Regions from separate parts of the Homo sapiens genome. Here region 2 is linked to region 1. Evidence: promoter capture Hi-C in 16 types of primary human blood cells and fetal thymus (Javierre and others, 2016). All regions are on one chromosome and are shown on one strand. Each heading gives the region's core, a stretch centred on a gene start or on the middle of the fragment in contact. The rest is flanking DNA. Distances are from core to core; before and after follow the strand shown.

Region 1 (5,272 bases), core at 1,386-3,885:
CACCACCACACCCGGCTAATTTTTGTATTTTTAGTAGAGACGGGGTTTCGCCATGTTGGCCAGGCTGGTCTCGAACCCCTGACCTCAGGTGATCCACCTGCCTCAGCCTCCCAAAGTGTTGGGATCCACCCCTCCGGGCCCACCACTGTTCTTTGTTCTAAATTTCTTCCTGAGGGGCCTGGAGGAGGTCATGCCCACAGGCCAGAGCTAACATTCTTTTTTGCTGATCTCAAATTTTTTGACAAAGCCTTGCCTTCTTAACCAATCACAAATCAGAAAACCTCTGAATCTACTACCTATATGACCTGTGGGCCCCCAGTTCAAGATGTCCTAGCTTTTTAGGTCAAACCAATGTGCAGCCTCCAGGTATTATTCATGTGGGACTTAGCCTGTAACCTCTGCCTCTCCACCTTGAAAAACCCTCCCCCATCAGCCATCGGGGAGTTCAGGTCTGAAGTGTGAGCTGCCAGGTTCTGCTCGCCTGGTGCCCTGCTCTAAATGCCTCACTTCCTCTCACTGCAATCCCGACGTCCATGTTTGGCTTTGCTGCGGGAGGGCAGAGCCAGGCTGGGTTTGGTGACAAACGCTGAGTGCTCACCAAGTACCAAGCCCTGTTCTCGGGGCTGGGGTGCAGAGCGAACAGGCAGAAAGAAGGTCTCTGCTCTCATGGGGCCTACGCCTCGGTGGGGAGAGACTGACAATAAATGAAATAAACGTCTAAGATATGAAGTACATTGGATCGTGGTTAGTGGGATCGAGAAAATACAGCAGGGGAGGGCTTTAGGGGGAGGGAGACCTGCTGTCAAGGTGATGTTTGGGTGCCGAACACCCCGACGTTTGGGTGATGGAATGAGATGCTCAGAGACATCAGAGTTGCTTGGTTCCAGGCCCATGGACCACTCAAGGCCCTGTCTCAAATCTCCAGGCTTCAGGACACGCTGCTTTACATGGAGGCGGGCTCTTCATCTGGGCCTCTGAACAAGGCCTGAGACAGGACGCAGGCAAATAGCATGAGGCACGAGACTGTAGTCCGGGATGGAGAGTCAGAGTGAGTCTGAGGATGAGTGCAGATGCCTGCAGGGCAAGCTCTGCTGAATTGCTTTGCTATCTAGTTTTTATTACAGTCATTGAATCGGGGTGTCTCCCATTATCTGATGACAATTTTATGATGAAAAGAAACCATGCTGGCTTTGTTCGGTCATGGAGATGGGAAAGGTCCGCATATTCAGCAATCTGTTGAATTCTTCCAGGTTAAAACTGGAGCTGAGAAAAACCTGCAGCTGCCTGTCCCTCCCTTCACCTCTTCCAGCGAGAGGCAGTGGGGGACTGGAGAGCTGATGAAATGGCAGAGATAAAGGTTGTAAATTAGTTTTCCCTGAAGCCGACCAGCCTGAGCAACAGGATAAAGGTCGTTATTACAGACAGCCCCCGGCCTTTGGAGTTCACAGTTTCTCCATTGCTAGGAGATGGAACTCTCTGGAACCCTTCTCCAGCTCCACAGAGAGGCTCAGGCTATCAGAGGATCTGAGCGGTTGTAGGCTGCAGGCACAAGTTAAAAATAATCACCTAACGTTTTGACAGCACTTTCTTTTTTTCTGTCCCACAGAGATTGGAAGTCATTTTCTTATCCTCTTTAGGAAGTATGTTGGATTCAGGATTCTTAATTCCCATTTAAAGTCAGGACAATTGAGATAACTGTATCAGCTAACATTTACTGGGTGTTATGTTATACTTGCTAATAATAATCATAGCTAACATTTACTGAGTGATAATTTTTCTTAATAGAAAATAGCAGCATTTACTGAGTGCCACATATTTTCCAAGTACTGCCTGAAGAGCCTTGGATCTGTCCTCTAATTTATTGTTACAGCCCTGAGGAGGAGGAACTATTAACCCCCATTTTGTGGATGAGGAATTCGAAAACTAAGAGAGATCAAGTAATTTGCCTAGGAGCACAGCTGGTGAATGTTGGAGAAAGTATGAAGCGGTAAATATTACTTAAATCACATAGCAAATATAGCTGTGACTGCAATTCTAGGGTGTGTGTCTCTGTGTGTCCACGTGTATTTGGAGTAGATCGGATAAACTTTGGTCTTGGGTAAACTGAGGCATGTCTGGCGAAGGGGCTGACTCTTTTCTATCCCATTGAGAACATCCTCCTGGTGCTGGGGTGGGGGTATATGTGGGATGGTGTAATTGCGCAGCGTACCTTGTAATTAATTCCGTAGCTTTCACTGACGTCCGAAAGGATTAGAGAGAAAAATGTGGTCAGCGCTTAATATGGAGGGCACAGTGGGTGTGCTGCTTTCTCTTTTCCATCCCTCTGTCAACTTCATTCTCTTTTGGGGGCAAACAAGACTCAGATCTAAACAGAGTTTATGGTTTGTTTTGCATTTTGTATTTATTAATATTTATGCCGACTTTGAAGGTGCTGACCAGAAGGCATCAGTAACACACACACGCACACGCACACACACCACACACCATGTCTGTTTGGTTTGATTCTGAGCCTGAGATCCTGGAAATATTTCAGCTGTTGTTAAGAGGCTGGAGTTAGGACCCAGGAAGGACACAGCAGTGGGGATATAAATAGAAAAGGAGAACAGAACAAAGTTTGAGGAGAGAGACTTACATCACTCACTCCCCCTCCACCCAGAGAGCAGGACGGAGGTGTGAACTTGAGCCAGACCAGAAGGAGCTCGAGAGCGGCCGCAGGACAAGCCCGAGGAGCAGGCGGGCGCTCCAGGGGAAAACCACGCACAAAACCTTCTTCAGAGAAAAGGGAAGCTCCAAACCTGACTGAGACAAACGGAGGCTCTTGAAATAAAAAGAAAATACCGCAGGACAAACAGCCTCCCGTCCCCGGGCGCAGGTCGCGGTCACAGTGGTGACCTGGGATTGCTTTCCCAGGACTGCGAGTCGGGTTTGGGTTTCTCCTCCCTGCATTCCACAGCTGCTCTGGTCATCGCAACGTGTTTATTGATCACTGAAGAATCTCAAGTTTTGAGACGAGGAAGAAACACCCATTAGGTCTCCAAGACAGCTGTGTTTCACAAACTTTAAGGAGACAGAAATTTTCTCCCCTGGAACCTGTGAAAATGTCCCTTTTCCAAGGAAGTGAAGGTTAAGAGGTCCCGTTCTCACAGACCCTCAGGAATTTCACTTGGCTCCGAGCTTTGACCTCCGAGAGAGCCATGGAAAAGCTGCTGCGGCTGTGCTGCTGGTACTCCTGGCTGCTGCTATTTTATTACAACTTTCAGGTAATGTCCCCAAGTGGCCAGGATGGCGACAGGCTTGGTTTCTCCGGAGGCTTTCCCTGAGTGTGTCTCACACTGTGGTCTTTTGTGCGCAGGTGCGTGGCGTCTACTCCAGATCGCAGGACCATCCAGGTAAGAGTGTTTCCTTCTCACTCTGAGCACCGCTCTCCCCCTGCCTAGTGCAGGTATCTCAGGAACAGCCCACTTGTTCATCTCTGAGGCATCAGCGAATGGCCCTTGTTGGGCTCCTGGTCCCCGACCTCACTGCCTCACCACACACTGTGACCCTGGGCAGCTCTGCTACCCCTCACCGGCTGAGCGGTGGATGGAGAAGTGGTTCTGGGCCCCTTGAGCTGGGTCATATGAAACATTGTGATTAAGGAAATATGATCTTCATTTGAATGCCTTCTGCCTCTTTCTTTCTCTCTTTCTCTCTTTCTTCCTTTCTTCCTTTTTTTCTTTTTGAGATGGAGTCTTGCTCTGTTGCCCAGGCTGGAGTGCAGTGGCCGCAACCTCTGCCTCCCGGGTTCAAGCAATTCTCCTGCCTCAGCCACCTGAGTAGCTGGGATCACAGGTGTGCACCACTACACCCAGCTTTTTTTTTTTTTGTATTTTTAGTAGAGACAGGGTTTCACTATGTTGGCCAGGCTGGTCTCGAACTCCTGATTTCAGGTGATCCGCCCGCCTTGGCCTCCCAGAGTGCTGGGATTACAGATGTGAGCCACCACACCCATCTCATGTCTTCAGGGCAGATTCACTGGTGGGGAGTTGGAGCTCTGGCCCATAGCAGGGTCTCGGGACCTCCAGCCTCAGAGTGCTGACCAGCTTAGCCTGGAGCAGCCGATGAGTGGGACTCGGGATAGAGGGCCACCCTTGCTCCAGCCCCAGAGCCACATTCCATTGGCCATTGTGACACCCAACCAGGAAGCATCAGGACGGGGCTTCTCTCGGGAAGACAGGGAGGCACACACCCTTCGCTGTTAAGAGTGTGGGCACACGTTCTGGTCAGCCAGGGGCAGGGATGGGAAGACGAGGCTTTCTGGGAGCAGCAGGCAGTCACTGGGCTGTTGCTCCCTGCTGGAAGTTGCAGGAGGTGGGGAGGAGACCCTGCTAGTGCCTGAACCCCTGCTGGGAAGCCTGTTGTGAGCACAGCCTCTGCCCCCGCCCCACCAGAGCTTGGCTGGGCACCCCCCCGAGCGCTATTGTATGGCCCTGCCTGTCTCTGATGGGAAATCAGCCTTTTTAAAAAAATTATTTTTGTTTTTATTTTTTGAGACAAAGTCTCACTCTGTCACCCAGGCTGGAGTTGAGTGGTGAGATCTCAGTCTCGGCTCTCTGCTACCTCTGCCTCCCGGGTTCAAGCGATTCTTGTGCCTCAGCCTTCCAAGCAGCTGGGATTACAGGCCCATGCCACCACGCCTGGCTAATTTTTGTATTTTTAGTAGACACAAGGTTTTGCCATGTTGGCCAGGCTGGTCTCGATCTCCTGACCTCGGGTGATCCAACCACCTCGGCCTCCCAAAGTGTTGGGATTACAGATGTGAGCCACTGGGCCTGGCTGGGAACCAGCCTTTAATGATCAACCACAAATGGACTCAGGCCAGCACTGTGGGCAGATCCCAGGGCGATACCCAGGCCTCCAGGGAGAGCCCCTTTCCTGGATGGAGCACCAGGAGCCTGCTGGGGTCTAGGGCCAGGGGCTGTGCCCTCAGCCTCTGTCTCCTTTCCGGCTGCCCGGCAGCCCCATGCCAGGATGTTCCAGGCATCGTCGCCTCGCCACCACCTCCATTCACCAACTCGGGGGTGGGGACGCTGCCACTTCTGTTTCGTCCACATGCATAGGGAGCTCCTTTTAAAAAGGTGTGGAAGCTGTGAGTTTCCACACATTCCCCTCTCCTCAGCCAAATCGCTGAATGAAACAAGGGCTCCTGTGGCTTGGGAACGAATAAACATGCCCAGCGCTGCGTTAAAGAGAGGACGTGTCCACCTTGGACACCTTGCTTCTCGTGAATGCA
Region 2 (5,272 bases), core at 1,628-4,127, 860 kb after region 1:
ACCTTAAAAACTTATCTCTCATTTTGTAGAGGCATTAAATTATTAGGCTTATTTAGTAAATTATGTGAGAGACATTATCAAATAATAAATTATATTAGGCATTCTTTCAGTTACATTTATGTTATTAATACAAATGTTTCATGGCTGGGCATGGTGGCTTACACCTGTAATTCCAGCATTTTGGGAGGCTGAAGTGGGTGGATCACCTGAGGTCAGGAGTTCAAGACCAGCCTGGCCAACATGGTGAAACCCCATCTCTACTAGAAATACAAAAATCAGCCAGGCGTGGTGGTGCACACCTGTAATCCCAGCTATTCAGGAGGCTGAGGCAGGAGAATCACTTTAACCCAGGAGGCGGAGGTTGCAGTGAGCCGAGATTGCGCCACTGCATTCCAGACTGAGCGACAGAGCGAGACTCCATCTCAAAAAAATAAATAAATAAATAATGTTTAAAAATTGTATAAAACTTAAAATCTAATATCATTAGTCATAATTTTAGCTGTTATAGTAAATCTTCTTTAAAGTTATATCTATGTAAATGTATTAATGTGAATATCCTATAGACTATGTACAGCTGATCAGTCTGATGGCCCCAGATGAACAATGAGATTCGCCATTCCACAGTCTTCATTTACAGCAGTCTGCACTGTTGAGAGGCTCCAGCCGTCACACTCACTCACAGGCAAGTCCCTTAAACCTGATTTCCTGCCAGGCGCGGTGGCCACACCTGTAATCCCAGCACTTTGGGAGGCCAAGGCAGGTGGATCACTTGAGGTCAGGAGTTTGAGACCAGCCTGACCAACATGGTGAAACCCCGTCTCTACTAAAAATACAAAAATTAGCCAGGTGTGGTGGCGGGTGCCTGTGATCCCAGCTACTTGGGAGGCTGAGGCAGGAGAATCACTCAAACCTGGGAGAGGGAGATTGCGGTGAGCCGACATCGCACCACTGGACTCCAGCCTGGGCAACAGAGCAAGACTCCATCAAAAAAAAAAAAAAAAAAAAAAAAAACCTGATTTCCTGCAACAAAAACGAAATGACTCAAGAAATTACAACTGGCAGAGAACAAAGAGGGTGGAGAAGTGGATATTTCACAGAAGTCACACAAGGCCAGGCTCACTGTAGAAACATGGAAAAATACAGTATCTGAAGCCAAACTAACCAGGAGCATGTCCTAGCAACAGCACTCACTACCTACAAAACTGTGGGCATGGCGCTTTTGTTATCATTCTGTGATAAAAACCTCAGTGAGGTCAGGCACAGTGGCTCACAACTGTAATTCCACTGCTTAGGAAGGCCCAGGTGGGAGGATGGCTCAAAGCTAAGAATTCGAGACCAGCCTGGGCCACAGAGCAAGATCCCAACTCTAAAAATCAAATTAAATTTAAAATTTAAAGAAACAAAACAAAACAAAACTTGGCCAGGCATGATGGCTCACACCAGTAATCCTAGCATTTTGTGAGGCTGAGGTAGGTGGATAGCTTGAACTCAGGAGTTTGAGACCAGCCTGGACAACATGGCAAAACTCCATCTCTATAAAATTAAAAAAAAAAAAAAAAGAGCAGGATGTGGTGGTGTGTGTCTGTAGTCCCAGCTCCTTGGGAGGCTGAGGTAGGAGGATCACCTGGGCGACAGAGCGAGACCCCACCTCAAAAAGAAAAAAAACTTAAACGAGCTGTTGGGTAAAACTTTCAGTGTAATGGAAGGAAGACACGCCAGGCCGGAAATCAGAATGCTTTCCGGGCACTCCACTCATCCTGGCGTGGGGCTCAGGCTTGGCTCTGCCGCAGTCCACACCATCTCCCCAACACAGAACTACGGCAGCCCCCGACCCGAAGCCAGCAAAGCCCCTCAACCGGAGCTCCCTTCACAGGCGCAGGTGGTGGGAGTTCACCGTCCGCTCATCATCCCAACAGTCTGAGGACGGCGCAGCAGCCTGGGCTCCCATGGGAGGTGCAGTGAGGGAAAGCACACTCGCCCAGGCTCCCCCAGTCGTGGTGACAGAAATCCAAGCATGGGGCCATTTAAAAGAGTAGTCGTGACAGCTTAGGAAGGAGCGACTGAAGCTTTCTTTGTTTTCTCTCTGGCGATATCTTTAGGGGCCTCTCCAAGTTTCTTGCTGAAGACATCCACAGGTCTTAACCAGGCTGGTCCACCGCGGTCTTGTGATTCGAGGCACAGTAAGTGGCCCCTTACTTTCCTTCTCTACTTGACTTTTCTGGATTCGAAAGAGCGTTTGTCAAACCTACAAAAAGATGACGACTGATGGTTTTTACAAGGTGTGAACCATGAAGAGTGATCCCATGCCACCCAGGATGGGGTTGAACATTGACATTGCTACAGACCTGTATTAGGTGGAAATAGCACTGAACCCCCAAAGGAATCTAACAACATGTAAGACAGGATATTTTTTGGCTGGGCGTGGTGGCTCACGCCTGTAATCCCAGCACTTTGGGAGGCCAAGGCAGGCGGATCACGTGAGGTCATAAGTTCGAAACCAGCCTGGCCAATATGGTGAAACCCTGTCTCTACTAAAAAAATACAGAAAAAAAAAATTAGCCAGGCGTGGTGCTGGGCGCCTGTAATCCAGCTACTCAGGAGGCTGAGGCAGGAGAATGGCGTGAATCCAGGAGGCGGAGGTTGCAGTGAGCCGAGATGGCGCCACTGCACTCCAGCCTGGGCGACAGAGAGAGACTCCGTCAAAAAAAAAAAAAAATTCCTGTCCTCCCCCACCCTTGTGATAATGTACTTTGTGATATTCCCCGTCCTTGTGAATGTACTTTGTAACATTCCTCCCCGCCCCTGTGACAATACACCCTCCCCACCCTTATGAATGTACTTTGTAACGTCCATCCCCTGCCCGAAAAAATTGCTGCTAACTCCACCGCCTATCCTATCCCAAACCTATAAGAACCAATGATAGGCCCACCACCCTCCTCTGACTCCTTTCTCAGACTCAGCCCCCTTGCACCCAAGTGAATAAACAGCCTTGTTGCTCACACTAAGCCTGTTTAGGTGGCCTCTTATACAGACGCGCATAACACCTACATTCTTCTGGATTCATCGAATCTAACTTTCTTCCATAGAATTACTAAAAATGGAAACTTCTCTGTTCCTGAAGTCCTATCAGCTAAAACTAGATGAATTCTCCAAAAGAAGCCTTGCGTCTGATGTGTGGGCCACACAAAAGTTCACTGTACCTCCCAATGCCATAGTCAGAGACATTCGAACTGCAAACCAGGTCGCGAATAGGACGTTTCATGCTGTAGACGGCTTTCCCTAGACGCCGGCGAACAGGACTCCTGTCATGATGACGCTCTTACCCATCTCAATGCCCACCTCTCCCACGGGGCAGGACGGTGGTGTCGCTGAACTTCCACGATCCGCGGCTTCTGCTGGAACTCCACAGAACCTGACCCAGGAGATCCCTTAGTCTCTTCTGGTTAAGTAAGGAAATGCCTGTGCTGTTGCTGCCACCACACGCTGCACCTGGAGAAACTCCTCTGGGAAAGCTGAGACCCACATGCACAAAATAAGAAAACAGGCCACAGGGTCGCAGCCGGTCTCACCCACCGTGAGGTTATCTGATTTATTCCCTTGGTTGCCTTTACGGCTGGGTTCGTGACAAAGCCACTGTGCAAACTGGGATTGCCACATTACTATTAATTTTACCTTGTATTTCCCCTTTTGAAGCTTTGCGTTTGTTCCTTGTTAAATTTTGAAGTACAACTCCTCGCAGGATCATGCTGGCCCAGCGCGTCGAGATGACAGCAAGAGACTCCAAAGCAGACAAAACTGAACTCAGTAACGGGCCCCAGGGGGCCTCAGCCCAGGCACCACACCCTCCAAACCTCCCCTATTGCTCAACTGTGGCTAAAAGGGTTTTGACATTGACTCCTAGTCACCACCCACCGTAACCCCACCCGGTGTGGGGAAAGACCAGCAACCAGGACATCCCTGGGACATCAAAACCTAAGTTCAGGGCCGGGTGCAGTGGCTCACGCCTGTAATCCCAGCACTTTGGGAGGCTGAGGCGGGCAGATCACCTGAGGTCGGGAGTTTGAGACCAGCCTGACCAACACGGTGAAACCCCATCTCTACTGAAAATACGAAACTTAGCCGGGTGTGATGGCGGGCGTCTGTAATCCCAGCTACTCAGAAGGCCGAGGCAGGAGAATCGCTTGAACCCAGGAGGCGGATCGGAGGTTGCAGTGAGCCGAGATTGTGCCACGGCACTCCAGCCTAGGTGACAGAGTGAGACTCCGTCTCAAAAAAACAACAAAAAACAAAAAAGCTAAGTACAGGAAGACTGATCAGTGATGCCTGAGAAAGATTTTTTTTTTTTTTAAATGGAGTCTCACTTTGTTGCCCAGGCTGGAATGCAGTGACGCGATCTCGGCTCACAGCAACCTCTGCTCCGCCTCCCGGGTTCAAGCGATTCTCCTGCCTCAGACTCCCAAGTAGGTGGGACTGCAGGCGCGCACCACCATGCTCAGCTAATTTTTGTATTTTCGGTAGAGACAGAGTTTCACCATTTTGGCCAGGCTGGTCTCGAACTCCTGACCTCAGGTGATCTGCTTGCCTCAGCCTCCCAAAGTGCTGTGATTATAGGCATGAGCCATCTTGCCTGGCTTTTTTTTTTTTTTTTTTTTTTGAGACAGAGTCTCGCTCTGTCACCCAGGCTGGAGTGCAGTGGCGCAATCTCAACTCACTGCAGCCTCTACCTCCCAGATTCAAGCGATTCTCCTGCCTCAGCCTCCCGAGTAGCTGGGACCACAGGCGCGCACCACTATGCCTGGCCAATTTTTGTAGTTTTAGTAGAGATGAGGTTTCACCATGTTGGCCAGGCTGGTCTCAAACTCCTGACCTCGAGATCCACTCGCCTTGGCCTCCCAAAGTGCTGAGATTACAGGCGTGAGCCACCACATCTGGCTGCCTGAGAAAGATCTTGATCAAAGGGGGAAATATAGCCAAGCACAGTGTCTCACACCTGTAATCCCAGTGCGTTGGAAGGCTGAGGCAAGAGGATCTTTTGAGGTCAGGAGTTCACGACCAGCCTGAGCAACATAGTGAGACCCCTGCCTCTGCCAAAAAAACCTTAAAAATTAGCTGGGTCTGGGGGTGCACACCTGTGGTCCTAGCTACTTGTGAGATGGTGGTGGGAGGATTGCTTGAGCCTGAGAGGTGGAGGCCGCAGTGAGCTATGATTACGCCACTGCACTCCAGCCTGGACAACGGAGTCCCCTGTCTCAAAAAAAAACAATTGCCTGGG

Evidence for each region. The method cuts DNA at HindIII sites, captures the fragments that hold promoters and counts their contacts. A CHiCAGO score of 5 or more calls a contact.
Region 2: a fragment that was not itself captured here is called in contact with the fragment with the promoter of ADGRD1 in region 1 in 1 of 17 cell types (monocytes); the score reaches 5.1 in monocytes.

The regions. Positions count from the first base shown.
Region 1 is chr12:130,951,272-130,956,543 of GRCh38, forward strand. ADGRD1 (adhesion G protein-coupled receptor D1) reads left to right here and starts at 2,636. Exons shown (of 25, transcript NM_198827.5): 1 at 2,636-3,260; 2 at 3,353-3,389. The coding sequence starts at 3,195. The HindIII fragment of the contact is 10,485 bases long and covers 1-5,272 here.
Region 2 is chr12:131,815,580-131,820,851 of GRCh38, forward strand. It overlaps LOC105370088 (a long non-coding RNA gene), which reads right to left and starts at 4,023. Exons shown (of 3, transcript XR_007063536.1): 1 at 3,673-4,023; 2 at 3,201-3,512; 3 at 1,679-2,245. The HindIII fragment of the contact is 1,627 bases long and covers 2,065-3,691 here.